3 separate regions of the Homo sapiens genome follow, and regions 1 and 2 are each linked to region 3. The links are contacts of gene promoters, found by promoter capture Hi-C in blood cells and fetal thymus (Javierre and others, 2016). All regions are on one chromosome and are shown on one strand. The core of a region is centred on a gene start or on the middle of the fragment in contact, and the rest is flanking DNA. Distances in the headings are between cores, read along the strand shown. Region 1 holds the start of SLC16A8 (solute carrier family 16 member 8). Region 2 overlaps PICK1 (protein interacting with PRKCA 1). Region 3 holds the start of TMEM184B (transmembrane protein 184B).

Region 1 (2,992 bases), core at 410-2,909, 190 kb before region 3:
GCCAGGGTTCCCACAGGCAGGAAGGGACTTCGGGGGCCACCCCGAGGGTCAGGGGGATGCTCAGGGGCTCGGGTGTCTCCTGGTTCCGGATCCCAGGGGTCCCGGGGAGGCGGAGGGCCGGGCGGGGACACTGACCCGTGCCGTAGAGCATGGCTAGCATGATGGAGGACACCCAGGCCGTGTCGCTGTAGCCGGCGTCGAAGTCGCGCATGAGCGCGCGGAAGAAGACGCTCACGGCTTTGGGGAAGCCGTAGGCGAAGCCGGTGACCACAAAGCAGGCGCCCAGCACCACCCAGCCCCAGCCGCCGTCTGGGGGGCCCTCGCCCCGCCGGGGGCCGCCAGCGCCCATCGCTGCCTCTGTTGGGAGGGGGCGGGGACAAGAGGGAGGGGCTGGGCCAGCAGCCTAGAGAAGGAGGGGGATGGAGACGAAGCATGGGGAAACTGAGGCACAGGGCTACCCACGTGAGGGTGGCTCAGGTCTGGGAACCAAAAGGGGAAACGGAGGTAGGACTCTCACCCCAAGTCTCCTTCTCCTGCAAAGGGCGCTGAAGGACGAGGGGAGGACGACGGGTCCCACCTGACTCTGCACCTCTGCAGGCTCCCTCTGAAGGACAACTGCTGGCCCCTCAGGGCCTCAGGTGGAAGGCGTCGGGAAGTGGAGCAGGTATGTGCCTGGAGGTGGGCGTCCAGCACCAAAGTCGCCCCGTACGCGTGAGGGTCTCGGGACAACAGAACAAACAGCAGAGGGGCAGATGCCGGCTGCAAAGGGCCGCTGTGCGTGATTTTCCTCTTTAGCCTTCCGCCATGTTCCTAATGTTTCTCAGTGATCACAAATGACTATTGTCATTAGAACATTAAGGGGACAAAAGCCACTTTCAACAGATATCAGCCAGGGGAGCTGAGTTCCCATGCATCTCAGCTCAGCCATGGATTCCCTCCCTGACTTGGGCCGGTCGCCTCCCCTCTCCCAACCTCCCTTTCCTCCGATGTAAGATGGGTGATTGATCACCCCGAGGCCAGCTGGGAATCTTGCGGGAGAGGAGTCAGGTCTCTGGCTTCTGCCAGACAGGTAGGAACCTTAGCAGCACTGAGAGAGTGGCCTTCTGCCCTCCAAACCTCAAACCCTCTATATGAAAAGAATGGCTCCAAAGCCTGTCTCATTCCTGGGGCTCCACCCGGGGCCCTCACAGCAGTTACAAGCGCCCCCATAACAGATGAGGAGGGTGTACTCAGAGACAGGTGCACCAGGAGCCGGGGGCTGGGGATAGCCTCCTGCCCTCCTGCCTGGAGTGTCCCTCCTGGCACTGGGCAGTGCCACCACCCCCAGGGTATCCGGGACTCTGCCCCTCCTCCACTAGGACCAGGTTGTGGCTTTTCCTGCCTGTTGTCCTCTTGTCACAGGGGCAGCCACTTGAAGGTGGAGACAGGAGGGTGATCCCAGGCAGCCCTCACATCACACTCACCTGAGCCTGCCTCGTGGGTTTGGGGGTCCAGCCTCACATCTCCTGAGGCCTGCAGGGAGGGGCCGCCGCCGCAGCTCCCGGTGAAGCTTACCCGGATGGGGGCTGCCAGACACCCCAGCTTCCCACCAGCCTGGGCTGAGCCTCTGGCCGACTCCCGCCTGACGCTCCCTGCCCCAGGCCTGGAGCTTAGAGTGTGTGCCCCCACCACACCTCACCCCTGCTAAGAGGCTTTTGTCCAGGAGGGGAGAAGAGACTGGGAGCCCCAGGCCAGGCTGGGCCTCGGCGGTGGGCTCCCTGTCCCAAGCCAGTCCAGGAGGGAGGAAGAGAATCCCTGTGCCTCCTGGAGCCTGGGGTGGTAGACACAGAGACCTTGCCCAGGGGGTCCTAGTCTGGTGCTGGGGGCACAGCCCTGCCCTGAAGAGACCCCAACGGTTCTAATCACCTCAGTGCCTCATCTGCCCCCGCCCCAACCCCCCGCCCCAGGCCACATTCCAGGAGGGGCTGGCAGCTTTCTCTAGAATGAAGCTAATCCACGCCTGTGCCTGGGAATGTGGGGGGGGGAGGGGCCAAAACAAAGGGTGCTGTGTCCAGGCCGCCTGAGGGCAGCTTGCTGGTGGTCCCAGCCCTTGGCCACTGCCACCTCTCCCCTGACCCGAGCAGCCGCTACTTCCTAGGAAACCCACAGGTCGAAATGAGAGCAGGTGGAGATGGGGGCTGCAGCGCGAGGGCTTTGGGGCAGCCCTAAAGAGTTCTCCAAACAAACAAACAAGGGGCTGGGAGTGAGATGGCTTCCCGGGGAACAGCCAGGACCTCAGTACCCCCTAGACCCCATTCTCCAATGGGGGAGTCTCTATCCCTCACCCCCTGCCCTGTCCCCCAAATAAGACACCACCAGTCCTGCTGCCGCATCACTTTGCGTCCACTTCCTTTATTTCTCATCATTTACAAAAGATGTACAGAGAGGGCATGTGTTGGGCACGGAGCAGGTACAAGGGGCTCCTCCCCACGGGGGCAGAAAAGGGGGAAAGAGGTTAGGGGGCAAGAGGTGGGCCCCCCAGGGAGAGTCCTGGAGCCCCTGGAGGGGGAGAAATTGTCCTGTCCCCCCATTCCGCCTGCTTTACTTTGAAGGTCTCGGACCCCAAGCCAGTGCTTTGGAGCTGCTCAGGCTGCCGGGGTGGTCTGGGGAGGGCAGCCACCCCCCGTCTCAGGGACCCGCTTCTTGGATCTGCTGCTGTTGCTGCTGTCGCTGCCATTGCCAGCTCTGAACAGCCCCTGGGCAGGTGCACTGTGGGGTACGACCTCGGACCCCGCCTCAGCGGATGAGGGGTGCTGAGCGGTCATTGGTGATGGTGGGACGAAGCTTGACAGTGGCAAAAGGATTTGTGCCCCTGTAGGAGGAGAGAGAGAATGGGGTGAGAAGGGCAGATGATCCCCACCTGGCCATGGCTCAGGAAGGCAGCTGGGCAACTGAGCTGGGTCCTGCCTCCTGCCCCTATTTGGTCTCCATCCACTCCTTGCCCCGCTTCATC
Region 2 (3,044 bases), core at 77-2,576, 210 kb before region 3:
AAGCTGGGCAGCCAGTGGAGCCCCTCAGGAGTTTTAGAGGGCCCACCCGCTCCAGTCATCCTTCTGCCAGGAGAGTCAGCCTAGCTTGCTTTCCTTTCTAGCGGAATCCCGACTGTGCCTGGGAAGGTGACCCTGCAGAAGGATGCTCAGAACCTGATCGGGATCAGCATTGGAGGAGGGGCCCAGTACTGTCCCTGCCTCTATATCGTCCAGGTATTGGGCGCTTTGGAGGGGGGCACAAGGTACATCCCTACTTGGGCATGACAAAGGCAGGTTCATTTCTCCACACTGCATAGCTGACTCCTTCTCATTCTTGAGGTCTGACCCTCTCAGAGGGGCTTTCTGACCACCTGCGCTGCGTTGCTCTGCCCTGTCTTCTCCCCTGTGTCGCTCTGTTTTTTTCCTTCTCGGCACTTATTACTTGTTATTTGCCCTCTGTCTAGTAGAGTAGACTCTTTGCACTGAGGGCAGTGTCCTGGTTTGCTTTTTCACTGCAGTAAGCACCAGGTACAGTGCCTGGCACATAGTGGACATGCAATAGAAATTGACTATTGAATCAACAAAACCATCAGCCTTGCGTACTAGCCAAAATGAAGTGTCATAGGAACACGATGAAATAATGGCCTGAGTTCAAATGCAAGCTTCTTTCCTACTTACTAGCAAGTTACTTAACCTCTTTGGGCCTCAGTTTCATCACCTAGAAAGCGGGGATTTAAAACATGTAGACACAATCATCTCTGGGTTCTTGTGAGAAGTCAACAAAACGACCTAACACACTAGAAGTTAAGAAACGTGCATTGGCCAGGCATAGTGGCTCACACCTGTAATCCCAGCACTTTGGGAGGCCGAGGTGGGTGGATCACGAGGTCAGGAGTTCGAGACCAGCCTGGCCAACATGGTGAAACCCCGTCTCTACTAAAATACAAAAATTAGCTGGGCGTGGTGGTGCACGCCTGTACTTCCAGCTACTTGGGAGGCTGAAGTAGGAGAATCGCTTGAACCTGGAAAGTAGAGGTTGCAGTGAGCTGAGATCACGCCACTGCATTCCGTGCATTCCAGCCTGGGTGACCGAGTGAGACCCTGTTTCAAAAAAAAGAAAGAACCATGCATTAAGCAGTAGCTGCTGCTATTTTCCAGGTAGCTGTACATTTTCCCAGATGCTCTGCCAGTGGTGAGGAACACTCTTGTGTCTCTTGCAGAGGAAGCTGCACTGGTGATATTCTGTCCACTGTAACTCAGGAGTGGTGACAGGCCTGCTGTGGGGCCTCCTTCACTGTGTGGCTCATCCAAGTCAGTGACCTTGCTGTAGCCTTGGGAATACCTGTTCTAACCCTCTCACTGGTGGCAGATGGGAAACTGGCCTCTGTGAGGATCTTGCTCAGGAGTCGCTTGTAGGCCTCGAAGACAGATTCCCAGGATCGACCTGGTCTTGCTTCTGCTCACAGTGCTGCCTCCTTCATGAGCCATTCGGCCTCCTGTGACCCAGGAGGCATTAGCAAGACCTCCCCCAGGCCTGGCCTCCTGGCCGTGTGTCTGCTCAGCCTCTCGCCACCTCCCTCTACCTACCTCAGGTGCAAGTTTGCTTAGAATGAACAGACATCATAAAATAGTATAATTGATTTTTTTTTTTTTTTGAGACAGAGTCTCACTGTGTTGCCCAGGCTGGAGTGCAGTGGCGTGATCTCAGCTCACTGCAACCTCTGCCTCCTGGATTCAAACGATTCTCATGCCTCAGCCTCCCGAGTAGCTGGTATTACAGGTGTGCGCCATCATGCCCAGCTAATTTTCGTATTTGTAGGAGAGAGAGGTTTTAGCTATGTTGGCCGGCCTGGTCTCGAACTCCTGGCCTCAAGCGATCCACCCACCTCAGCCTCCCAAAGTGCTAGGATTACAGGCATGAACCACCAGCCAATAAAATAATAGAACTGGCCGGGTGCGGTGGCTCACACCTGTAATCCCAGCACTTTGGGAGGCTGAGGTGGGCAGATCACCTGAGGTGAAAACTTCCAGACAAGCTTGGCCAACATGGTGAAACCCTGTCTCTACTAAAATACAAAAATTAGCCAGGCATGATGGCGGGTTCCTGTAATCCCAGCTACTTGGGAGGCTGAGACAGGAGAATCGCTTGAACCCGGGAGATGGTGGTTGCAGTAAGCCGAGATCGTGCCATTGCACTCCAGCCTGGGCAGTTGAGTGAGACTCCGTCTCAAAAATAATAATAATCATCATCATCATAGAATTGATTTTTTTAAATTCAATTTTGTTTTTATCAAAGTGCCATATGACTTGCCTCTACCAAGTCAAGAGCATTAAAAGCCCTGTATCAAATAATAGCAATCCACTGCCCTTCCCCTGGGCACCTCACCCGGCTTTCTCTGTCTCTTCATGCATGGGCTTCCATTTTTCTCAATAGTCTCACTCTGTCGCCCAGGCTGGAGTGCAGTGGTGCAAGCATGGGTCACTGCAGCCTTGATTTCCCCAGACTCAGATGATTCTCCCACTTGAGCCTCCAAGTAGCTGGGATTACAGGCACGTGCCACCAAACCTGGCTAATTTTTGTGTATTTTTTGTAGAGACGGTGTTTTGCCATGTTGCCCAGGCTTGTCTCAAACTCTTGGGTTCAAGTGATCCACCCGCCTCAGCCTCCCAAAGTGCTGGGATTACAGGCGTGAGCCACCGTGCTCAGCCTATCCTGTTGTTTCTTGATCTATCACCTGTAAATATCTATTGACTTTGCCTCGTCTGGTAGATGAGAATTTAGTTCTTCCCATGACCAGTCTGTTTCCTCTCATCCCACCTTTCCAACATAGTTATTTTTCTATTTTTGGCTAAATTAATATTAGTACAACGGAGATTTTGTTCGGGAAATCTTTTCCAGATGCCTCCTAGGCTCTGTTGTAGGCACTAGGGATAAAAGAATAAGAAAGCAAAGATCCTACTCTTGCGGAGCCCTCATTCTAGTCAAAACAACTCTATGTTTAACTTTCTGAGGAATCTATGTTTCTTTTCTTAATTCAGCCTGTTCTTGTGTTTTGAGAGGGTGG
Region 3 (3,105 bases), core at 133-2,632:
GTTTGGTATTTTTCACATCATCGTGATCACCTGTTTCCAAATCTGATTCCCCCATGCTTGAGAGCTCCTTGATGGCTTGGGCATCAAATGTTTCTGTCCAGGTGGGCACACATACCTGGCTGCTGGGGCTCTCCCACCCCAGCGTCCCAGGTCCCAACTCTGATACGCACAGCACCCTAGGCAAGGTTCAGAGGTGCAGAGCCTAGGGGTTCTACCAAGGAAGCTAAATAGGTAGATGGAAAGGGACACTGTAGGCATAACCTGTCAACGAAGTCACACCTCTGAGACCTGCGCTGCCTCTGCAGGTGCAGGTGAGCTTGTTTGCCTGGCTGACTCTGCAGCGCAGGGCCTCCAGGGCACAGATTGCTGCTTCTTTCCTTACAAAAGCACCAGCAGTCAGATAAATAATACATGGCCTTCACCTCACCACAGGTATCAGGCATGCAAATACCTGCTTTGCCCCAAAATGCCCTGGAAAGGAGGGAGGAGTAAAACGTCTGGCCTTATACAACACCTCCAGAGGGGATATGTATTGGGAATCCATGCCCAACCCCCAGCATAACTGCCTTGCCTTGGCCTGGAGCCACCCAGCACTGGAGGTAAGTGGATCCAAGCGAGGTACCAAGGGTGTGCCCAGGAGGAAATGTACAATTCACGGGAAGGATACAGACACCCAAAACCAGTCTCCACGGTCCCTTTGGGGGCAAACATCTTTCGAGCCCCAGGTCCCAGTCGATCCCCTTCCAAACCTGCGGACCTGTGTGGCGGGCGTGTACACCCTCCACTCACGACGCAGCCCCGAAAGCCCCCCGCCGACCACCCTCCCAGGTCACTGCCACCCGCACAGGGCACGGACGCCTCCCCCACTCACTCGGCCGTGCCAGTCGCCAGCACACCCACCCGGGAGCACACAATCCCTCTTGCAAAGCGCCTTGGTCCATCCGCCTCCCTCTCCCGGGGCCGCCCCCCGGACAGGTCCGATTACACTCCAGGAGCTGCCCCCGCCACGTTGGCGTGGAAAGGGAGCGGGCACACCCACGGGCGACCTCGCGGGGCGGAGAGGAGGCACGGGTGGGGAGACGGATGCCCCCTCCCTCCGCGGCCGCACCGGCCTCCGTAGTGCCCTCCCCGCCCGGGAGCCGGCGGCCGAAGCCGGGCGTCCCTCGCGCGGGCCTCTCCGAAACAAGCAGCCCCCCGCGCTCGGGAGTCGCAGCTCCCCCTTGGGGCTCCCGGGCGAGGCCGGCCAGGCGGGATACCTCAGGAGCCCATGGCGGTGGCGGCGTCTGCGGACGATGCGCGGCAGCCGGACTCTGCGGGCGGGGCGGGCGGCGCCGCAGCCCCGGAGTCTCCGCCGCCGCCGGCGCGTCCCGGGCCCAGTGGAGTGCAGCCGCGGCGCGCATGCGCTCTGGGCTCGCCGCCGGGGAGGGCGGGGCGGCGGACGCGGCTGAGATCACTGCCTGGGCCTTAAAGGGGCCGCGCCCCGAACCCCAGCCCGCCGCCCCGAACCCCAGCCCGCCGCCCCGCGGGTTGGGGCGCGACCCGGGTTCTCTTGCCACTCACAAAACCAGCTACGACCGGCCCCCAACCGCGAGAGCTTTCTGGGCTGCGATCTCTGCCCCTGACCCTCGCTGGTGCTTCACTTCTTTTAACCCTAATTTCCTCCATTTGAGCCTGTTTTGAAGATGAAACGAAATACAATGGCTATTTGTTGAGTGAAGGATGCGTGTGGAATTGTGGAATGAACGTGGACCGAGTGTTGTGTGCAATTAGGCCAGATGAAATGGCAAAGCACTGAAAGAGGCCTTTTTTTCCCACTCCGCTTAGCAGCGATTCTTTCTTGCCCCGTCTGGCTCTAGGCTGCCGAACTAGCAAAAGTCTTCAGATAGGGTTCAAGCCGCCTAGTCCATTTCTGTTTGCCGGTCCAGACATCACCTAGGTTAACTGAACAAGATAAAATGCAATTAAGTTCTGGCATTGATGTGCTCAAGATCCCCAAATGTATTTATGTCTCCAGACTCCTCGCCTGAACTGTCTACCCAACACCTCTTCCTTGGAGCTCCAGCAGGCATCTCAAAGTCAGCGTGTCTGAGCTGAGCCAACCCCACTTCCACACACAAAAACCTGCTCCCTCTCAGCTTTGCCTCCATCAGCTGTTGACAATTCCATCCTTCCAGTCCCCAGGCCAGAACTCGGAGTCAGCTGTGAATGAATGCCCCCCTTCTGCCCGCTACCCAATAAGGCAGGCAGGAGATCCTGTTGGCTCTACCTGCAAAATAGATCTAGACTCAGATGTCTGCCACTCCTCCTCCAGTGCTACCACCCTGGTCCAGTATTTGCACAGGATTATTGCAGAGTTCTGCTAACCCCTCTCCCTTGTTCCAGCCTTGCCCTCTGATCCATTCTATCAATTCAGGGGTGAGGGAGATCCTTTTTTTTTTTTCTCTTTTTTCTTTTTGAGACAAAGTCTCGCTCTTTGTCTCAAAGTTGCCCAGGCTGGAGTGCAGTGGCGCGATCTCGGCTCACTGCAAGCTCCGCCTCCCGGGTTCACGCCATTCTCCTGCCTCAGCCTCCCGAGTAGCTGGGACTACAGGCGCCCGCCACCATGCCCAGCTAATTTTTTGTATTTTTAGTAGAGACGGGGTTTCACCGCGTTAGCCAGGATGGTCTTGATCTCCTGACCTTGTGATCCGCCTGCCTCGGCCTCCCAAAGTGCTGGGATTACAGGCGTGAGCCACCACGCCCAGCCAAGATTCTTTTAAAATCTGCCGGGCACGGTGGCTCACGCCTGTAATCCCAGCACTTTGTGAGGTCGGGTGGCTCATTTAAGGCCAGGAGTTACAGACCAGCCTGGCCAATATGGTGAAACCTTGTCTCTGCTAAAAATACAAAAATTAGCTGGGTGTGGTGGTACATGCCTGTAGTCCCAGCTACTCTGGAGGCATGAGAATTGCTTGAACCCGGGAGGCGGAGGTTGGGTTGTGGTGAGCCAAGATCGTGCCAATGCACACCAACCTGGGTGACAAAATGAGAATCTGTCTCAAAAAATAAAATAAAATCGAAGTCAAAACATGGTACTTTTTTGCTCAAAACCCTCCATTGGCTCAC

The links. The method cuts DNA at HindIII sites, captures the fragments that hold promoters and counts their contacts. A CHiCAGO score of 5 or more calls a contact.
Region 1: the fragment with the promoter of SLC16A8 here is called in contact with the fragment with the promoter of TMEM184B in region 3 in 2 of 17 cell types (endothelial precursors and M0 macrophages); the score reaches 6.4 in endothelial precursors.
Region 2: a fragment that was not itself captured here is called in contact with the fragment with the promoter of TMEM184B in region 3 in 2 of 17 cell types (M0 macrophages and M2 macrophages); the score reaches 5.8 in M0 macrophages.

Annotation. Positions count from the first base shown.
Region 1 is chr22:38,082,525-38,085,516 of GRCh38, forward strand. It overlaps SLC16A8 (solute carrier family 16 member 8), which reads right to left and starts at 1,660. Exons shown (of 6, transcript NM_013356.3): 1 at 1,464-1,660; 2 at 518-837; 3 at 136-357. The coding sequence starts at 349. BAIAP2L2 (BAR/IMD domain containing adaptor protein 2 like 2) reads right to left here. Exons shown (of 14, transcript NM_025045.6): 14 at 2,376-2,851. The coding sequence ends at 2,776. RefSeq lists a silencer at 119-168 and an enhancer at 1,144-1,925. The HindIII fragment of the contact is 1,274 bases long and covers 1,548-2,821 here.
Region 2 is chr22:38,059,133-38,062,176 of GRCh38, forward strand. It overlaps PICK1 (protein interacting with PRKCA 1), which reads left to right. Exons shown (of 13, transcript NM_012407.4): 3 at 102-213. Among named protein-coding and RNA genes, the nearest start is that of PICK1, 3.3 kb to the left of the region's middle. The HindIII fragment of the contact is 1,374 bases long and covers 640-2,013 here.
Region 3 is chr22:38,271,628-38,274,732 of GRCh38, forward strand. It overlaps TMEM184B (transmembrane protein 184B), which reads right to left and starts at 1,383. Exons shown (of 9, transcript NM_012264.5): 1 at 1,257-1,383. RefSeq lists an enhancer at 134-843 and a silencer at 906-1,535. The HindIII fragment of the contact is 13,147 bases long and covers 1-3,105 here.